Linked DNA regions of Homo sapiens: regions 1 and 3 are each linked to region 2. Evidence: promoter capture Hi-C in human tissues and cell types (Jung and others, 2019). All regions are on one chromosome and are shown on one strand. Each heading gives the region's core, a stretch centred on a gene start or on the middle of the fragment in contact. The rest is flanking DNA. Distances are from core to core; before and after follow the strand shown. Region 1 has its middle 26 kb from the start of GRTP1. Region 2 holds the start of F7 (coagulation factor VII). Region 3 has its middle 6.9 kb from the start of GRTP1.

The links. The method cuts DNA at HindIII sites, captures the fragments that hold promoters and counts their contacts. A contact is called where the count stands out against the background at its distance.
Region 1: a fragment that was not itself captured here is called in contact with the fragment with the promoter of F7 in region 2 in 2 of the 25 tissues and cell types used here (heart left ventricle and lymphoblastoid cells).
Region 3: a contact is called between a fragment that was not itself captured here and the fragment with the promoter of F7 in region 2, in 3 of the 25 tissues and cell types used here (dorsolateral prefrontal cortex, heart right ventricle and spleen).

The regions. Positions count from the first base shown.
Region 1 is chr13:113,388,575-113,391,274 of GRCh38, reverse strand. No RefSeq gene overlaps it. Among named protein-coding and RNA genes, the nearest start is that of GRTP1, 26 kb to the right of the region's middle. The HindIII fragment of the contact is 4,940 bases long and covers 1-2,700 here.
Region 2 is chr13:113,104,497-113,107,196 of GRCh38, reverse strand. F7 (coagulation factor VII) reads right to left here and starts at 1,406. Exons shown (of 8, transcript NM_019616.4): 1 at 1,292-1,406. The coding sequence starts at 1,355. The HindIII fragment of the contact is 23,631 bases long and covers 1-2,700 here.
Region 3 is chr13:113,369,683-113,372,382 of GRCh38, reverse strand. No RefSeq gene overlaps it. Among named protein-coding and RNA genes, the nearest start is that of GRTP1, 6.9 kb to the right of the region's middle. The HindIII fragment of the contact is 8,985 bases long and covers 1-2,700 here.

The sequences.
Region 1 (2,700 bases), core at 67-2,566, 280 kb before region 2:
AGGGCGTTCTTGGATCTCGCGCAAGAAAGAATTCAGAGCGAGTCCATAGAGACAAGTGAAACCAGTTTATTAAGAAAATAAAGAAATAAAGAATGGCTACTCCATAGGCGAGCAGCTGAGGGCTGCTGGTTGCCCATTTTTATGGTGATTTCTTGATGATATGCTAAACAAGGGGTGGATTATTCATGCTCCCCTTTTTAGACCATATAGGGTAACTTCCTGACGTTGCCATGGCATCTGTAAACTGTCACGGAGCTGGTGGGAGTGTAGCAGTGAGGATGACCAGAGGTCACTCTTGTGGCCATTTTGGTTTTGGTGGGTTTGGCCGGCTTCTTTGCTGCAACCTGTCTTATCAGCAAGGTCTTTATGATCTATATCTTGTGCCAATCTCCTATCTCATCCTGTGACTTAGAATGTCTCACTTCCTGGGAATGCCGTCCAATAGGTCTCAGCCTCATTTTACCCAGCTCCTACTCAAGATGGAGTTGCTCTGGTTCAAACATGCCTGACATTTTCTCTTTCCCTTTTATAAGAGAACCCTTAATCCTAAGAGTTGCAGGGGGATGAAGATCCATCTTCTGTAACTTCTTCAGGCTGAATAGGGGCGATGACATTCCTGCCTAACTATTAGGGTCCCTTGTGTTCAGGGTAGAGAGGAGCACAGTCAGAAGGCATCAGTGTGGTGAGGGCTATTCATAACTCTTAAGTTCCAACAAAAGGTGATATCTGGGCAATTAATAAGTGTTCAGTTTAAGAAAACATTGAGCAAGTTTATTTTGCATACCTACACAGAGTACAACAACAATATATTCCACAATAGTAAAGCAAAATAAGTACAATTATTCCAAGTAAACTAAATTAGAAGGCTTTTCATGAACTGGGCAACTATTGGAACCAAGATGATGTGAGGTTGCTAGCCAATTCTAGTGTGCCCAGAATTAGAATATTGATTCAGATTTTTACATTACCCATCCCTCTTATTTCTTCTGAGCAGCAGTCAGAGTTCACTGGTTGGTTCACAGGAATAAGCAAGGTTAGCCTAAATTCCAGAAGCAAATCTAAAAACAACTGATGAGACTAGAATTTAAAAACAACATACCACAGTTCCTGAAACATAATATTTCTCTCTCTAGTTTCCCATTTTTACTAAAGGCAAATCATGGTAAGACTGATTTACTTTATTATACTTGGCCTGATTATTTGTATAAAGGGCAGCAAGAATATTTTTCACATAGGTTCTTTTTAAATTGGCTTTGATGGAACTCTGTTCCGTAGAAGGAATCTTAGCTAAGACTCTTTTAGAACTGAGCCCCGCCATGGGTTTGTACCCTCAAATACCTGTAAGTTGAGTAAATTTCTCTCCTCTTGAGTTTCCAAGATAACTTGGGGCTCCTGGGCCTGTGAGAAAGTGACTTTTTTTTTTTTTGAGACCGAATCTCGCTCTGTTGCCCAGGCTGGAGTGCAGTGGCATGATCTCTGCTCACTGCAAGCTCCGCCCCCCCGGGTTCATGCCATTCTCCTGCCTCAGCCTCCTGAATAGGTGGGACTACAGGTGCCCGCCACCATGCCCCGCTAATTTTTTGTATTTTTAGTAGAGACAGGGTTTCACCATCTTAGCCAAGATGGTCTCAATCTCCTGACCTCATGATCCACCCGCCTCAGCCTCTCAAAGTGCTGGGATTACAGGCATGAGCCACCGCACCCAGCATAAAGTGACATTCTTTACTTACCACGGGTCAGGAACTCTGTATAAGGACTGTGGAGAGAACGTATCAGGTCAGTTTTCCCAAGGGGCTTTATCAGCTCTATAAGTCACGTTTAATTTCTTAAAGGAAAACACATCATTCTAGTCAAATCCTTGGTAAAATAAGCAGTTTCTCCAATTGTGTCCTGTTGCAAAAGAAAACAGATTCCTGGCCAGGCACAGTGGCTCACACCTGTAATCCCAGCGCTTTGGGAGGCCGAGGCAGGCAGACCACCTGAGGTCAAGAGTTCAAGACCAGCCTGGCCAACATGGTGAAACCTCATCTCTACTACAAATACAAAAATTAGCCAGGTGTGGTGGCTGGCACCTGTAATCCCAGCTACTTGGGAGGCAGAGACAGGAGAATTGCTTGAACCTGGGAGGCGGAGGTTGCAGTGAGCCGAGATCATACCATTGCACTCCAGCCTGGGCAACAGAGCAAGACTCTGTCTCAAAAAAAAAAAAAAAAAAGAAAACAGATTCTTATTGCACTTATGCAAATAGCTATATTGCCATAAATTAAGAATACTCACAACTAGTTCCCAAATTTTGGAGAAATTAGGTAGAGAGAAACAAATATGCTCCAAATTTTATTCATACAAGTATACTTATTCAATTGTTAAAAGCTATAACTCGCTCAAAAGTTTCCTTGATTCTGAAAAACAAAACAAAGGATCAGCAATATTTTAAGCAAAAAGTTAAAAAGATTACTTCTGGTTTCTATTAGTTTAGTCCATGTAGTTAACTTCTGTTTGATATTCATGGACATTTCAGCTCTCCATAAGAATTCTAAAAGTTTTTTCCTCTATTCTGATGTCACCATCACCAGTTATCGGAAACCTGCACTCAAGAACATCTGTCAAAGTCCTGTAGCTGATTATAAACCACCTTCTAAAGAGGACCAAAACAAGACAACCATTGTTTGTGGATGACAAAACATCTTCGGACAGCCATCA
Region 2 (2,700 bases), core at 157-2,656:
AAAGCAGATTTGCATCAGAAAAGCTCTCAAGAACTGAGGAAAACCTGATGAAGAACACACGATTATCTGGAAGGAACAGAATGGAGCAAAGAAGATAAAATCGCCTGCACCCCAGTCCCAGGGAAGGCCAAGCTGGAGCGGTCACTTCCTCTCGAGCAGGGAACACCCTCCTTGGGGGGCACTGCAGTAGCCACCCCGCGGGCTGGCTCTTTGCCATGGGAGGGGAAGGAGGTGATGTTGGCCCCCACTGGGCCCCAGGACAAAACCAGTGGCAGTCCCTGCTCACCTCTGTGAGGCCCCGGCTTCCACGGCATGTCCCGTGTTTCTCCTCCTGAGGCCTTAGCGACCCCGCCTGGGGCAGGAAGGTGGCCGGGGTCATAAGGCCATGCTGTGAGCTAGGGCTGCAGCCCCACATCCCAGGCACTGTCCCTCACAGCCCACCCCCCACTCGCCATCCCCACACGCCATCCCCACGCCCCACTAGCCATCCTCACGCCACACCCCCTACTCGCCATCCCCATGCCCCACTCACCATTCCCAGGCCCCAGCCCCACTCGCCATCCCCACCCCCCCATGCCCCATCCTCTGCACCCCACACGCCCTTTCCATGCCCCATCCCCCACACCCCACATGCCCCATCCCCGACACCCCACACACCCCATCCCCCACACCTCCATGCCCCATCCCCTGCACCCCACACGCCCTTTCCATGCCCCATCCCCCACACCCCACACACTTTCCCACACCTCACCCCCACACCCCATGCCCCACATGCTGTTTCCCAGGCCCCACCCCCCCACGGCCCATCCCCCACACCCCACACGCCATCCCCACCCCCGATCCTCCACACCCCATCCCCTACGCCCCACATGCCGTTTCCCACACCCCATCCCCCATGCCCCAGGCGCCATCCCCCACGCACCGTCCCCTACCTGTGCTCCCCAGCCTGGGAGCACCCTGTGCGCACTTCCTGCACTCTGAGAGGCCCCAGACTCCCTGCGCTTGTCCGACCTCACAGGCAGGGGCCCATGGGGGCCAGGAAAGCACCACCCACTCCTAAAGTTCTTTGAAAAATAATCCCGCCAAAGCCTGGGCCACCAAGAAGGGCCTCCCCTCCTGTGCCTGGATGCTGGTTTCTAGAAGGAAAGAAATTGAACAGGAGCCGCCAGAAAACCCTCCTGGTGGATGGGGGTGTCCGGAGCAAGGGCGGGGTTTGGGAAGCCCGGGCTGGCTCCTGGATTTGCCCACTGCCCTTCCACCAAGTTTATGGAGAAAACCTCCCCGGACGCACCTGCAGCCAGGCAGCCCTGAAGCCCAAGCAGAAGGCAGAGGAGCCTGAGGGCCTGGGAGACCATGATGAAATCTCTGCAGTGCTGCCCCTGCCTGTTGACATTCCCCATGGGACTGACGGGCAAAGTTCTCTGCCTCCAAGGGTGACAGAGGGATGGGGGAGGGGAGGACACAGGCGTCCTCTGAACACCCCAGCTGAGAGCTGCACCTGGCCGGCCAGTGGCCATGCATCCCCTGCTGCCCAGCCACTGAGCTCAAGTGGGGGGGACAGGAGAAAGGTCAGGTGACCCCAGCTGTGCTGCAGAGCGGACGGTTTTGTTGCCAGCGTGCAGGTGTTAAGGTGTGTGTGGCACCAACACTTCAAATACGATCTAGAATTCCAAACCCCTAATGTAAGTTGGGAAACAGATTTAAACTGCAGATGAAAACTTGTCCCATAGCAATCATGCGAGTCAAATCTCAAGACTGTATCTTGGGTGTGGATGTAAATATTTGAAGAGAGCCTCCAGACCAGGCCAGCTAGGCCGTTGCCTGCAAGGGAGGCTGGTTTCTTAGGTGAGCCACAGAGCCTCACTGAGAAGTGCCGGGAATAGGATCATTCTGGCCCTGAGCTGGGCACCCCCACTCCGTTTTGACTGCAGGCAGCACCCCCATTCTCCAGCGGTCCACATCTTACGTCTTTTTGTTTGTTTTGTTTTGTTTGTTTGAGACAGAGTCTTGCTCTGTTGCCAGGCTGGAGAGTGCACTGGTGCAATCTCACTGCAACCTCCACCTCCCGGGTTCAAGTGATTCTTGTGCCTCAGCCTCCTGAGTAGCTGGGACCACAGGTGCACGTCACCATGCCTGGCTAATTTATATATATATATTTTTTTTTTTTAGCAGAGATGGGGTTTCACCGTGTTGACCAGGCTGGTTTCGAACTCCTGACCTCAAGTGATCCACATGCCTCAGCCTCCCAAAGTGCTGGGATTACAGGCGTGAGCCACTGTGCCCGGCTGGCGGCAGTCCACGTCATTTCTACCTGCTGTCATGGGCCCAAGCCACAAGCTGTGGTGACTAACCACCCCAGGTTGCCCAGGGACTGAGGGTTCTCAGAATGTGGAACTTTCCATCCCAAAAACACTGGGGTAGACGGTCATCCAAGCCTCCTGGGTTGCCCAGCAGGCCTGTCTGACCCCTCAAGCAGGGAGTATCCTCCATGTGAACAGTTGCATTGCTGATGACTTCTTTGGAAGCTGATGTCCAGTTCTTTTTACGGCTGGAGGGAGGGAGGTGATTCCTTCCCAACAGCCAAGTCTTAGCTCAGGGGTGCCTTTCAAAGCAGCCCCCAGCACCCCCAAAGCCTCCCTGCTTGCTGCTGACCTGCATCTCAGTCCAGAGAGCAGAGCACTTGCTGAGGGGCCGACAGGG
Region 3 (2,700 bases), core at 123-2,622, 270 kb before region 2:
CCCAGCACTTTGGGAGGCCGAGGCGGGCGGATCACGAGGTCAGGAGATCGAGACCATCCCGGCTAAAACGGTGAAACCCTGTCTCTACTAAAAATACAAAAATTAGCCGGGCGTGGTGGCAGGTGCCTGTAGTCCCAGCTACTCGGGAGGCTGAGGCAGGAGAATGGCCTGAACCCGGGAGGCGGAGCTTGCAGTGAGCCGAGATCCCGCCACTGCACTCCAGCCTGGGCGACAGAGCGAGACTCCGTCTCAAAAAAAATAAATAAATAAATAAAAATAAAAAATAAAAAATAAAACAAACAAAAATAAAAAGAAATAAGGATGTCCTTAAGGTACAGTGAGGTCATTCCCGTGGTCCCTGAGCCAACCTGTCTGGTGTCCTCATAAGAGGAGGAGATTAGGGCGCAGGCACACCGGAGCATGACAGTGAGGACATGGGGAGAAGACACTGCCAGCCAAGGAGGGGGACCTCAGGAGGAGGGAGGGGCCTCAGGAGGAGGGAGGGGGCCTCAGGAGGAGGGAGGGGGTCTCAGGAGGAGGGAGGGAGACCTCAGGAGGAGGGAGGGGCCTCAGGAGGATGGAGGGGCCTCAGGAGGAGGGAGGGGTCTCAGGAGGAGGGAGGGGGTCTCAGGAGGAGGGAGGGGGTCTCAGGAGGAGGGAGGGGCCTCAGGAGGAAGGAGGGGGTCTCAGGAGGAGGGAGGGGGCCTCAGGAGGAGGGAGGGGGTCTCAGGAGGAGGGAGGGGGCCTCAGGAGGAGGGAGGGGGTCTCAGGAGGAGGGAGGGGGCCTCAGGAGGAGGGAGGGGGTCTCAGGAGGAGGGAGGGGGCCTCAGGAGGAGGGAGGGGGTCTCAGGAGGAGGGAGGGGGCCTCAGGAGGAGGGAGGGGGTCTCAGGAGGAGGGAGGGGCCTCAGGAGGAGGGAGGGGGTCTCAGGAGGAGGGAGGGGGTCTCAGGAGGAGGGAGGGAGACCTCAGGAGGAGGGAGGGGCCTCAGGAAGAGCCAGCCCTGGGCCTGAAGAAGGGGAGAGAATGAATTCCCACCATCCAGCCCAGCCCGGCCGGCAGCCCCTCGCCACAGCATCCCTGGGGCATGTGCAGCGCTGCACTGTGCGGGCTCCACTGGGGAAGGGAGAAGAGGGGAAGGGGGTGGGGAGCAACCACAGCCCCCACCAAGCTTCCTGCCCTGGCCCTACACTGGGCCCTTCAGGGCTTGGCAGTCAGGCTAGAGCAGGCTCAGGTGGGACCGCCCGCTCCGAACAAACATCGCTTCCTGAAGGCTTCCTGGATGGCCCGGAGACGATTTGCTCCGTCTCTCATTCTCGCAAAGCAGTTTTTTGTTGTTGTTGTGGTTTTTTTTGGAGATGGAGATGGAGTCTGGCTCTGTCTCCCAGGCTGATCTCGCCTCACTGCAACCTCCACCTCCCAGGTTCAAGCAATTCTCCTGCCTCAGCCTCCCAAGTAGCTGGGGTTACAGGCTCCCGCCACCACGCCTGGCTAATTTTTGTATTTTTAGTAGAGACAGGGTTTCAACATGTTGGCCAGGCTAGTCTCGAACTCCTGACTTCATGTGATCCACCCACCTCATCCACCCAAAGTGCTGGGATTACAGGTGTGAGCCACCAGCGGCCTCATTCTCACAGAACTTTATTGCGGTTTTTATGCAATGCCATATTGTATTGCAACATTTCATAAAAATGTTCCTGTTATCTACTATGAAAATAGCACCTGCTTATGGGTAGCACTCTTAAAATTTTCTCCTAAACCAAATTGTAAGCCCCCACATACCCAGAGCCTAGCAAAATACCCGATGTTCAAAAATCTGAAAAAATGGGCCAGGCGCGGTGGCTCACGCCTGTAATCCCAGCACTTTGGGAGGCTGAGGCGGGCGGATCACGAGGTCAGGAGATCCAGACCATCCTGGCTAACACGGTGAAACCCTGTCTCTACTAAAAATACAAAAAAAATTAGCCGGGGGTGGTGGCGGGCGCCTGTAGTCCCAACTGCTCGGGAGGCTGAGGCAGGAGAATCGCTTGAACCCGGGAGGCAGAGCTTGCAGTGAGCCGAGATCGCGCCACTGCACTCCAGCCTGGGTGACAGCGAGACTCCGTCTCAAAAAAAAAAAAAATTCTGAAAAAATGAAAGAGGCAAAGCAACTGGAAGAGCCTGACTTTAAAGCCGCCTCCGAGTCAGCCTCTTGCTTCCTGAGGGAGCCCGGGGTGGCCGGGAGCTGCCCCACTCCAGGAGAGCCTGCAGCCTGCACCTTGCCCTGCCATCCCCCTCAACGTGCTTTCCTTCTTCAGAGGCCTTCTCGGACAGAACCCCTACAAGAGAGGCCCTGAGGTGACCATCCTTAAGGTGGGCCTCCCGCACTGGCAACCTCCCAGAGGCTGATAGCAGTGGTCCCTGAGATTGGGAGGGTCCTGAATAGGGGCTGGGTCAAGCCTGCTGCCCTTTGACGGCCATAAAACCACCAGGGTTATAGGCCGGGTGCAGTGGCTCACGCATGTAATCCCGGCACTTTGGGAGGCTGAGGTGGGAGGATCATGAGGTCAGGAGATCGAGACCATCCTGGCTAACACGGTGAAACCCCGTCTCTACTAAAAATACAAAAAAATTAGCCGGGCGTGGTGGCGGGCGCCTGTAGTCCCAGCTACTCGGGAGGCTGAGGCAGGAGAATGGCAGGAACCCGATCGCGCCACTGCCCT